Regions from separate parts of the Homo sapiens genome. Here region 2 is linked to region 1. The links are contacts of gene promoters, found by promoter capture Hi-C in human tissues and cell types (Jung and others, 2019). All regions are on one chromosome and are shown on one strand. Each heading gives the region's core, a stretch centred on a gene start or on the middle of the fragment in contact. The rest is flanking DNA. Distances are from core to core; before and after follow the strand shown.

Region 1 (6,125 bases), core at 2,344-4,843:
CTGAAAGAAAGAGAAATATTTCACCCCAAAATATATTTCTTTGAGTTTTTTTTTTTTTTTTTTTGTGACAGAGTCTTGCTCTGTCACCCAGGCTGGATTGCAATGGAGCAATCTTGGTTCACTGCAACCTCAGCCTCCCGGGTTCAAGTGATTCTCCTGCCTCAGCCTACTGAGTAGCTGAGATTACAGGCGCCTGCCACCACACCTGGCTAATTTTTGTATTTTAGTAGAGATGGGGTTTCACCATGTTGGTGAGGCTGGTCTCGAACTCCTGACCTCGTGATCCCAAAGTGCTGAGATTACAGGCATGAGCCACCGTGCCCAGCCTTCTTTGACATATTTTGAAATGGCCTTGCAAAGCTGTCTCTTGTGGGGAAAATCTACGTTCTGTAGATTTCCCTTTCCAGATCTTTTTCTGATCCAGGAGAGATTAACCAAGAGTCTGGCATCTTTTTAGGTCTGATAAGAAATACTTACCATCTATTTCTCTGAAGCCTGCTACCAGGAGGCTTCATCTACATAAGAACATTTGTCTATACAACACCTTATCTTATCCCAGACACTCCTTTCTATTCATTCCAGTTCGTTAGACAATAACTATTTCAACCAAATTGCCAATCAGAAAATCTTTGAATCTACCTATGATCCAGAAGCTCCTGCCTACCCTTCCCTGCTTCCAGTTATCCTGCCTTTCCAGACTGAACTAATGTACATGTATTGATTGGTGTCTGCCTGTAACTTCTGTCCCCCTGTTACCAAAAAGGGGTCCTGATCCAGACCCCAAGAGAGGGTTATTGGATCTCAAACAAGAAAGAATTCAAGAGGAATCCATTAGAGTAAAGTGAAGCAAGTATATTAGAGAAGTAAGGAAATAAAAGAATGGCTACTACGTAGGCAGAGCAGCCCCAAGGGCTGCTGGTTGGCCACTTTTATGGTCATTTCCTGATTATATGCTAAACAAGGGGTTGATTATTCGTGAGTTTTCCAGGAAAAGGCTGGGCAATTCCTGGAACTGAGGGGTCCTCCCATTTTTAGATCACATAGGATAACTTGCTGTCTTTGCCATGACATTTGTAAACTGTCATGGCACTGGTGAGAGTGTCTTTTAGCAACAGATACATTATAACTAGTGCGTAATGAACAGTGAGGATGAACAGAGAACACTTTCGTCGCTATCTTGGTTTTGGCCGGCTTCTTAATGGCATCCTTTTAACGGCAAGCTCTTTGTGACCTGTACCTGTGCCAACCTTCTATGTCATCCTGTGACTTAGAATGCCTAACCTCCTGGGAATGTAGCCCAGTAGGTCTTAGCCTCAAGATGGAGTTGCTCTGGTTCAAACGCCTCTGACACCCCTAAAATTTATAAAAATCGAGCTGTAATCCAACCACCTTGGCACATGTTCTCAGGACCTCTTGAGGCTGTGACTCAGGCCTTCGTCACTCATATTTGGCTCTGAATAAAATCTCTTCAAATATTTTACAGTTTGACCTTTTTTGCCAACAGACTACTTAACTTCTGTGTCAGTTTCCTCATCTATAAAATGGGGATAATACCTGTTTCATGGGGTTATTGTTTGGATTAATTGAGTTAATAAACTAGGAAGTCCTAAATAAGTCTTAGTGAAAGAATTAGGCAGCCTCATGAAATGGAGCTAGAAATGACTTCATTCATCCACAGCGGTGGAATTTGGGCCTACGTGGGCCAATGTGTGGTGCAATCCATTCTGCAGACAGTGACGCTTATGAGTAAGACAAGTGCTCACGCCATTCCGGCTGCACCTTCACACACTGCAATCTTCAAGCCCTTATCTCCTCTCACCAGGACTCATGCCGCCAGCGCATGCAATCTCTATCCAGCAGATGTGTTTTAATCACCTGCATGTTCCAGGATGGGAAAGGGGGTGGCAGGAGGTGACGCTGGAGGAAGAAGGAAGAGGAGGGCTGAGGAGCTGAGCTTAGTCAGGGAAACAGGCCATGACAATAAGGAAGAGGGAAGTGCAGGGCTCCAAGGAAGACACAGAGGGCACCTGCACTGCCCCACCCCACCCCCAGGCTTTGAGGCCTATCAGAAGTTGGTGTCTTAGCTTAGGAAAACTTGAGAGTTAGCCGGGCAAAAAAGGGAGAGACATGGTCCCAAACACAAGAAATAACACAAGTTGTGTTCTTTCTTTTTTCTTTTTTTTCTGGAAACAGTCTTGCTGTGTCACCCAGACTGGAGTGCAGTGTCAGCTCACTGCAACCTCCGCCTCCTGGGTTCAAGCAATTCTCCTGCCTCAGCGTTCCAAATAGCTGGGATTACAAGGGCGCACCACCACGCCCGGCTTTTTTGTATTTTTAGTAGAGATGGGGTTTTGCCATGTTGGCCAGGCTGGTCTTGAACTCCTGACCTCAGGTGATCTGTCTGCCTCGGCCTCCCAAAGTGCTGGGATTACAGGCCTGAGCCACTGCGCCCGGCTGAGTTGTGTTCTTGACCAGTTTTCCTGACTCCATTCCCACCGACTCACTTAGAGCCAAAGCCTTTATTATTATTATGGGGACAGGGTCTGCCCTGTCACCCAAGCTGGAGTGCAGTGGTGCGATCACGGCTCACTGCAGCCTCAACCTCCTGGGCTCAGGTGATCCTCCCATCCCAGCCTCCTGAGTAGCTGGGACTACAGGCGCGCGCCACCACGCGGCTAATTTTTTTTTTCTTTTTTTGTAGCGATGGGGTCTTGCCACCATCAGGAGGCTGGTCTTAAACTCTTGGGCTCATGGGATCCTCCCACTTTGGCCTCCCAAAGTGCTAGGATTACAGGCGTGAGCCACCGGGCCCGCCAGCCTCCTTTAGGAAGAAAACCTGATAGTCACTCCACTGTTAGAAACCTCTCAGTGGGGTTTTTCGAAATGAAAGTCTAACTCCTTGTCTCTTTCTGACCGTTTCCATGCTGAACCTCATCTTTCTAATGGCCCACTCCTCCAGGGGCCTGCCTGACGCCCAGGACGGCCCCTCGTCAATCACACAGGACGCTAATGGGCGCGGGATGAATCTGGGCGCCCAAAAGAGGACAAGTTGAAATGGATTTTTAAGGTACTTTAAACACATTTAAGAGAGAAAAGAAGGAATAAAAGGGACATGACAAGAACAGTGGGGCCTGTGGGCGCAGCACACGGTTTGGGGTTGGTCGTGGCTTGCGTGTCTGACCGCCCGGTCTCCCTCACCGCCTGCACTGCAGGCTGCGGGGGCCTGTCCAGTCCTTTGCACTCCAGGTGCGGCGCTGGACAGCGGGAGCTCCAGCCACGGAGGCCGCTCCTTCAGGGAAGGATAGCCCGGGCTCCTCCGTGCCCCTAAACCCTGCAGACCACGAAGTGAACCCGTGTTGGAACCAGGTGCAAAACCCCCAGCCCTCCGGCGCTCGGGCTCCAGAGCCAACTCGGAATCCCCGCCCCTAACGCTACTCGCCAATCAGCGGCGGTTGCGAAATCCGTGCCCGCCCCCTGGCCGCGCCCTCTGCCAATGAGCGAGGTCCGAGAGGCCCGTCGCCCAGCCCAGTCCCGATCGGCGCACGCCGCTGTTCGCGTGTCTGGTTCCAAATAAAGTTTTTCGCGACTTTGAATTTTTTTTTTAAAGCGCCCGCTGCTGTCTCGGCTGCCGCGGGCGAGAGCGGCCGAGTCCCCGCCCCGCCACTTCCGGTCCCGCCGCCGGGAGCCGGTGCGGCTGTGAGGGGCCGCGTCTCGCAGCAGCCGCCCGGACCGGGCATGGTGTTGGGCGCCGGGCCCGCCTCGCCTGTCTCGGGGAGCCCAGGTGAGGAGCGACCGTGCGGCTCTGCGGCGGGGCGAGGTGCGGCCGCCGGTGCACGGGCTGGCCTGCGGGCCGGGCGGAGGGCGCGGGCGGTGGCGGGGCCGCCTCGGGCCCGCCGGGTTCCTCACGCCGGGGGCCTGGCGGGCGCGGGCACCCGGACGCGAGGCCGAGCGGCGTGAATGGGAAGGGGCCGCGGGCCGCGGGCCGCGAGCCGGGGGTCGGAGGCGGCGTCGGCGGCCGGGGCGCTGGCCTCGCCCGGCAGTGAGTGACCGCGGCGGCGGCGGCGGGGGACGGCCCGCGCCGAGCACCTGGTGTGAACCAGGCCCTGGGCCGAGCGTGGCACAGACCTGGCCGCGCTCACGCCCCACTCGCGGGATCGGCTGCCTGCCTTGTACGGAGGAAGCGGGGCGTCCAGCGCCTGGCCAAGGTCACCGGCCCGACGTGGCCGCAGAAACCGGGACTGGACTCCCGATCGGGGCAGGAGTCGCGCTAGGCCGTGAGGAGCGGGGGAGGTGAGGGGAGTGACAACTCGCGCCCGGTCCTCGTACCTGCAGCGGGAAGAGTAAGTATGGACGCTTACCTACAACTGGGGGCGGCCAGGCTAGTTTGGAAAATTTTTACCACAGCAAAGGAGACGAGGAAGGAAGGGCATCTTGGAACAATTAGTGCAGCAGAGTCTTGGTTCCAGACCTAGTTCTGCTGGTGTGTCATCTTGGGTGTGGCCTTCCCCTCCCTGGGCTCAGTTTCCTCATCTGTCACAGGAGAGAATTGGGTCCCCCCACTCTGCATTCCCGACCGCCTGGAAGTGGGGGCAGGATGGGTTGGAATAGCCAGAGAAAGCTTCTTGGAGGAGGAGATGTTGGGATGTAGGTAGGAATCTTCCCCTTAAGGAAGGGGTAGGATTCGTTTGTGAAGGGAAGGAGGGCATTCTAGACCTGGGTATCAGACTGAATAGAAGCTTCTGGAAATGAACAGGGTGTTGTGAAGGAACAAAGAGGAAACTGGCCTGCCTGGTGCAGAGGAATCCTGGCTGAGGAGTGAGATGAAGGCAAGGGGGAGCATAGAGGTGGGAGAGAGAGAGAGATTGAGAGACAGAATCACACCAAGCTTAGTGCTGTGGGGCTTGAGGACCCCCCACCTGGACATACCTGCCTTTCAGGTAGTAGGCAGTGCAGGAAGGGGCAGGTTTACTGCTGAACGTAAAAGGGGCTGGGCTCCAAAGATGGTCGGTCAACCAGCGTACTCCTGTGCCGAGCAGGAGGTTCCTGGGCACTGGCATTCTGTAGAAGAGTGGGATGTGGACTTTGTTGTGCCCTGATCGGGGCCCCTTTGGCTGGGGAAGTTGAGTGTCCCCTAGTGACCCGCAGTCCCATCCTTTATGCTTGGATTGAGACGTCTCCATTCGGAAGGAATTGTAAATAAGTAGCCCCCTCACCTTGAGCTGACTGGCCCCTGGTGTCCCTGCACAAGTGACATGGCCTGGTTTTGCCATTGCTTGCAGGGATGCTGAGTAAATATCACTTGATGGCACTAGTAAGTTGCACACCAGATGCTCTTCTCCGGGCTGTCTGAAAGCAGGTCCCACCCAGAGGAGGAACCTAACTGGGCCAATTACAACTTGTGGAATTTAGAAACTGAGAATGCTGTTCAGAACAGCTGATCTGTTACCGAAATGCTGCCTTAGAGCGTAATTTGCAGGAAAGAGGAAGTTTTGTTTTAAACCAGATCTTCAAGAGTTGAAGCATATTGAAGAAGGAAAAGAATTCTGAAGCAACTGCAGGTATTCAGCTAGCCTCTTGACAGTTTGAAGACTTACTTTTTGATAGAATCCTTTGGTTTAAATTTAATTTTACAGCTATGGCAACATTCCCAAATTAGGCCTTGGGTTTATTCTTAAAGTGGCGTGTGAAAATGATACACACGATAGAAAAATAGATGGTCACTATATTAGATTTCTTAGAATGTTAGAGAAGTACATTTTTTATTACTTTCTATGGAAAACAAAGCACCAGTGTTACATTCTTTTATATCTTGCAAGTCACAGACTTGAAGATAGTAAACCAGCAATCTGACTCTTCAGTGGAATTGAATGTTGGAGCGTCTTCTGCCCACAGAGAAGACTTCATCGTGGCGTGATTGGGGGTATAAAAGCGTTAAGCGTAGCCTGCGGGCTGTAGTGGTGCAGAAGAGTTTCTTGGTGGTTGGCCTTTGAGTGCATGAAGGATCTCTCTCCCCAGGCTTCCCTGAGCCTCCTTCAGGGAGCTGCATGTGGCCCTGGTGCTTGCTGTTCTGTGGGACTCTTCATTCTGACTTTCCTAGGTTACTGCCTGCTGAACTCATGTTCAAG
Region 2 (6,362 bases), core at 2,264-4,763, 330 kb after region 1:
CTTTTGTTCTTAAGCCTGTTCCCTGGCTCTGTTTTCTAGGGAACCTAAACTAAGACACTGGATACTGAAAATGGTTTGACAAAGCCGACCCTCACTCAAGGCTTCACGTTGGAATCTATCTTCCCACCTGTTTCAGAGTCACAGGGTCTCCATACCTCTGGTAAGTGGGATTGTAATGACCAGGGGTCAGCAAACTATGGCCTGTTCTTCCATGGCTTGTGGGCTAGAGGGAAAGGGAGGGGGAAAAGTCAGAGAATACGCTGCAGATATCACACGAGGCCCACAAAGCCTGAATTACTTACTATCTGTCCTTTTACAGAAAAAGTTTGCTGACCGCTGGTGACCGTTCATCACACAGTGGCGTTATGATTACTGGAGTTTTCACCTGTGGTCAGTTATGATGGGTGCAGCCAGAGAGCAAGGCATTGGGTGGTGCTTCCTGAGTGGGAGACAATGATAATGATCATGATTATGCAGAAGGGTGGTGCCTTCTTATGTTGGAGCTGAACACTCAGAAGAAAGGAAACGGTGGGCTTGGGAGAGTTCCTTGCCAACCTAAGACAAACTTTGAATGCCCAAGGGCCTCACTGGCAGCTCAGGAGATTTACATCTCCTACAGCCACTGGGTAGGAGAAATCACTGTTGCAAATCGGCCAGGCACAGTGGCTCACGCCTGTAATCCCAGCACTTTGGGAGGCCAAGGCAGAGGGATTACCTGAGGTCAGGAGTTCGAGACCAGCCTGGCCAACATAGTGAAAATTAAAAATTAGCCATCTCTACTAAAAATACAAAAATTAGCCGGCCGTGGCAGCGTGCGCCTATAATCCCAGCTACTCGGGAGGCTGAGGCAGGAGAATCGCTTGAACGCGGGAGGCAGAGGTTGCAGTGAGCCAAAAAGAAAAAAGAAAATCAGACCTCGAGGCTGGGCGCAGTGGCTCACATCTGTAATCCCAGCACTTTGGGAGGCCGATGGGGGCAGATCACTTGAGGTCAGGAGTTCGAGACCAGCCTGGCTAACATGGGCAAAATCCCCCTCTCTACTAAAAATACAAAAGCTAGCCAGGCGTGGTAGTGCGTGCTTGTAATCCCAGCTACTCGGGACGCTGAGGCAGGAGAATCGCTTGAACCCAGGGGGCGGAGGTTGCAGTGAGTCGAGATCACGCCACTGCACTCCAGCCTGGGCAACAAAGTGAGACTCCGTCTCAAAAAAAAAGAAAAAAAAGAAAAGAAGACCTCAAATTTGATAAGGGTTGAAGGCTACAAACGAGACTAAAGTCACAGCCTTGACAGGCCTGCTGCATCAGTCAGGAGCCAGATAGTGAATGGTCCTGAGACCATGGCTATGGACAATTGAGTAGATAAGCTGAGAATCTCAAACCCCCAAATTCTCAGAAGCCTCCAAGCCAACAGAAGCAAATACTTCCTCCTTGCCGGAGAACAGGTTGTTCTTACGGAATACCTTACCTGTGGTAGGTGTCCTGCAAGGTGTTTGTTCTCAAGACCTGCCCTCACCACTGCTCCTTGATGCCAACATCCAGGGGCAGGCTTCACCGTAGCTAGAGCAGAGAGGCATATGCTCAGCTCTGGTCAGAACTGTCCTGTTCTCCAAAGGAATTGCAAAGCTAATGTGTGCCAGCAGGAGCTGAAGGAACACAGGTGACGCTGGTTCTTCGCAGTGTGGTGGCGAAGGAGCATAACGCTAGATGGGTGGCTGGAGAAGAATTCGTTGGCACAGGGGCAGTCATCTGTGATTTAAAACTCGATGCTTTGGCAAGGACACCAGGAACTGATTCCAATCATTTGTTGGGCTGACTCCAGTGGTGTGCTAGTTAATGTGTAACAGTTGGCTCTCTGGAAAAATAAAAAAAAAGAAAGAAAAAATATGTAGCATTTATCTATTTCTGTGACACAGATACGCCCACATGGCCAATTTCAAGCTCCCACCATGACCCCCAGTGAAAGTGGTGATGCATGTAGGGCCACATGCATGGAGGGAAGAAGCCTGCCCTGCTTGCCCTGGGTTCAGGCCAACGTGGCCAACCTAAGCGATTCCTTAGAAAATAGAGTTTTGATCTGCCCAGTTACAAGGAGAAATGGAGCTCCCAAAGTTCGACATCTAGAAGACTATTTTTCTAAACTCTTTGTTAGAGGATTTTAAAAGGGGCTGTTCTTACCAAATCTCAATAAAGTGTCCATTGTAAGATATTTCTCAAGGTTATTAAGGCTTCTTATAAACTCCTTTTGCTATAAGTCAGTTCATGTTGGAAGCCAGCCGCAAAAATGATAATTTTGGATTTGTAATCATTGCCATTGAGACATTGTTTGTGGTAGGGACTGGCCTTTCTGTGTTAAGCCACTCCTCCTCTTCGTGGCCTTAAAATCTACCATCAATACAAAGGAGGCTGTTGTCTGCTGAGTGAGGGCCTGGGTAGGGCAGCGTAGCTCTCCCACATATTGATGTAAATCATTAGGGTTCCAGTGGAAGATGCAGGTTCTGTCTGAGTGAGGAGAGCCAGAAGTCCGGGCTGACCTCAGCATTTTAGTCCCCAACTTATTCCAACTCTTGAGGTCAAAGGCCAAGAGGAGGTCCCAGGAAATCTGGGAAGAGTTTGCAGTGTTCCCAATTGTTTCCTGGATGCAGGAAGGGTGAGCGTTGTCAGCCATGGACTTGGTGGGCATGAGACCCTGCTGATCTTTGTGCCTCATGTTGGCCTGAGAAACCAAGATTTGCAATTTGGTTTGAAAAATATGAACTTACCAGCCAGGCACGGTGGCTCACGCCTGTAATCCCAGCACTTTCAGAGGCTGAGGTGGGCGGGTCACCTGGGGTCAGGAGTTCGAGAATAGCCTGGCTAACATGGTGAAACACCATGTCTACTAAAAATACAAAAAATTAGCCGGGCGTGGTGGTGCACACCTGTAATCCCAGCTACTTGGGAGGCTGAGGCAGGAGAATCACTTGAACTCGGGAGGCGGAGGTTGCAGTGAGCCAAGGTCGCGCCATTGCACTGCAGCTTGGGCAATAACAGTGAAACTCTGTCTTAAAAAAAAATGAACTTACCTTATAGAGGAGGTGTATGAATTAACAGATAGGTTTTTAGGGGTGTGCCTTCATGTCAGTGTATATCTGGAAGAAAAACCTGAAGGAATGCCCAAATTTTCATAGTGCTTTCCTCTGGGTGGTAGAATATGGGTGACATTAGTTTTCCTCTTTATATATTTCAGTATCCTTCATATTCTATAATAAGCATTTACAATAATTTACATAAATTATAAATTATATGTAATATACTTTATTATAAGCATTTGATAATTAGAAAGCATAAATATAGTAATGCTATAGACTATTAAATATAAAATAAGAAACCTATTTTGAGCAGGATATTTGGCTTAAAATGGCTTGCTTTGTTAATAGAGATGGAGAACCTGCATAGTAAAAAGCAAAAGCATTAAATTTTTTGTATTGTGAAGTTATTTTTATTTGACTTCTATTCATTTCCAATCTTTGTCTTCAGTAATTAGATATGAGTTTCATGCTATTTTGAACAACTGTTGCTGGAGGTTTACCAAGCTTATGTTTATCATCCAAACCTCTGTAGAGATTATAAACAAATAAAGTAGTCTATAGAGCAAAATTCAGATGATGAAAACAAATAAACCACAGAAAGCAATTCAACAGATACAGACCAGGAATGACTGTGAGGGCAACAAATAGCTAACATAGGAGCTGTGAGCACTCAGATGGGATTGAAGATATTCAATATTTGAGGGCTTTTCAGTCAAATCGGCACAAAAATGCTACAGAAAAGTAAAACATAAAATAATGGGCATGGGCATATCTGTGAAGCAAAAGAAGGCAGAGGTGGCAATGTTGCTAAAAGACAAAGCAAAACATGTGCTTTTCTCGGCCAATATCCTATTCTGACAGCCATAGGAAAGAATGTGCCAATGGAAAGCCCCAGAAGGGGAAATGTAAAAGTGTCTATTTCCATTGGGGTGGAAGGAGGAATGTGTCTTCCTTGCTTGTTTTCTCAGCTCTCCACATGGTCTTCCTGCTTTGCTCAGGTGGACTCCCGTGTTCTTTCTCACTTGGATTAAAAACAATAACAACAACAACTTTTTTTTTTTTTTTTTGAGATGGAGTCTTGCTCTGCTGCCAGGTTGGAGTGCAGTGGCATGATCTCAGCTCACTGCAACCTCCACCTCCCGGGTTCAAGTGATTCTCCTGCCTCAGCCTCTCAAATAGCTGGGACTACAGGTGTGTGCCAGCACATCCAGCTAATTTTTGTAGTTTTAGTAGAGACGGGGTTTCACTATGTTGGCCAGGATGGTCTTGATCTCTTGACCTGCCCACCTCGGCCTCCCAAAGTGCTGGGATTACAGGCGTGAGCCACTGCACCCGGTCACAACAACTTTCTAGGAGTGTCTGCTTAAAGGCCATGTATCTCTGAGATGTGGCGGTGAGGGTCTTCCCAGAACCGTTGGGGCAGTGTGTGGAGGGGTGGAGGGGTCCCTGCTCCTGCTCAGGACTCTGGATGTCGCCCCCAGCCAGGTCACTGTGCCCTTTGGGGCAAGCACTTGTTCAGGTGGTTTGGGCCCTTCCTCCTCTGATGCCCAGAGGCGCCCAGGTTTGAATGTGGGGCTGCCCTACCAGAGCTCATGTTTTCCTATTGATGAAGATGAGGCTGGGCCCTGTGTGTCACCCGGTGCAGACACTGAGTCCTGCCACCAGGACGTCCATCTGTGCTGGACTCATTAGAGTCCTGGCCCTCATGGGATGAGAAACGACGTCCCCTGTCCCCAGCGTTCACTTCCTGCGTCCCCAGCATTCACTTCCTGCTAGCACCTGAGACCAGCGACTTGGGTCTCATGGTGCCTCCCACTCCGGTTTTCCAGCTCCCATTCTTCTTTGTCGTCTCCATGCGCCCGCTCAGGACTCCTGAGTTCTCGAAAACTCAAAACTCATCACACAACTGTCCCTCCCAGGCAACTTTTGATGGCATCCCATGACAGGGATAGTGGAGGCTTTTTTATTTCTAGGAATTAAGTTCTTGTCATCTTGGGCTACAGGTTTAGGGCTTCTCCCCAAGGCAGTTCGGAACTCACTCAAAGTAAGAATCATTTCCCCCTTCTCCCAAGGATGCACTTCACCTGATCCTGTCCAAGGCTTCTCATGGTTGTTTTTACTCTTTTCTCCCCATTTCTCCTCCCTCTCCCCAATATTCAGGACATAAAGGTTTCAGGCCATATTTATCTAACTCCAGAGATGACTTTCCTTTAGGACATCTTATGTCGGCCAACAGAGTGCAGTGGCGTTTGCTGCCTCATCTGAGGAGGGCTCCCTGCAGACCTGTGGGCGGAGCTTCTCCTACTGGGAATTGCCCCTCCAGGGCATTGGAGGGGAGGCCAAGGCCTATGACACCCAGAAAAGCCGTTTCTAGCCCTGGCAGCTCTGTACCAACAGCTGCATGGCCCAGTGTGGGGGGTGTGTGTGTGTGTGTGTGTGTGTGTGTGTGTGTGTGCTATCAGCAGGGACCAGCGTCTTTCACTGGCATCAAAAGACTGACCCATTTTCAGCAACAATATTTTTGCAGCCGACGAAGCCTTTGTTAGGTTTGTATAGGCGACCAGTTGAGCCGGGTTTGTGTTTTAGAGAAGTGGTGAAGTCTTAGCAGGTGGGAAGGAAGCTCGGCCATGGCTCTCCAGTGAACTCCCCCGTCCTTTCTTCCTGGAAAATTTCCAGGACCCCATCTGAAGCGTCCCCTCCCAGGACTGACTCTGGTTTGTCTCTTTGCTGGGTTAGGTAGGAGGAAGGCTAGTGGGATGACCATAGCTGATTTTTGTCATCTACTGCTCAGTCTGGATTCCCCACTTCCTCTGCTAGCACCTCTGCTGCGCTTGGGCACCCACCTGGCAGGAGGACACAAACCCTCATCCCAGCCACTACACGCTCTTCAGGCTGCAACTGCTGTGCTTGTCCATTTCCCACCAAAACTGGGCAGGAGCGTGCCAAGTGATGCCCCAGAAGCCAGCTGTGTGCCAGGGTGATTCTCCTCCACCCCGGTTCCAGCAGCCCTTCCTGCTCTTGAGGATCAGAGCCAGTCACCCCTGCTGGGACACCGACTCCTTTCCTTGCTTGCTCGTCTTTTGGCACAGAGCCTGAGTGACCAGTGACAGCCATCGCTTATTGTCCACTGGATCCCCTGGTGGCAGTGTTCCCCCTCTAGAGAACAGGCCTCTAGACCTGCAAAGCACAACATGGAGGGGACGAGAAGTTCAAATTCACCAACTGGATCCCTGGAGGTCATGGTTGGGGGCTGTTCCTGCTTCTGCTCCTGGGTTCCCAGACCCATGCCTTTCAT

What was found. Contacts are between HindIII fragments. The study calls those that stand out against the background at their distance.
Region 2: a contact is called between a fragment that was not itself captured here and the fragment with the promoter of UBE2F-SCLY in region 1, in 1 of the 25 tissues and cell types used here (hippocampus).

Annotation. Positions count from the first base shown.
Region 1 is chr2:237,963,352-237,969,476 of GRCh38, forward strand. It overlaps UBE2F-SCLY (UBE2F-SCLY readthrough (NMD candidate)), which reads left to right and starts at 3,594. Exons shown (of 19, transcript NR_037904.1): 1 at 3,594-3,781. UBE2F (ubiquitin conjugating enzyme E2 F (putative)) reads left to right here and starts at 3,663. Exons shown (of 10, transcript NM_080678.3): 1 at 3,663-3,781. RefSeq lists cis regulatory regions at 797-1,200, 1,527-2,190 and a silencer at 3,707-3,886. The HindIII fragment of the contact is 7,997 bases long and covers 1-6,125 here.
Region 2 is chr2:238,298,338-238,304,699 of GRCh38, forward strand. LOC112268433 (a long non-coding RNA gene) reads left to right here. Exons shown (of 3, transcript XR_002959458.2): 2 at 40-160; 3 at 320-409. It also overlaps a transcript of PER2 not described here. Among named protein-coding and RNA genes, the nearest start is that of PER2, 13 kb to the left of the region's middle. RefSeq lists a silencer at 1,218-1,418. The HindIII fragment of the contact is 7,342 bases long and covers 1-6,362 here.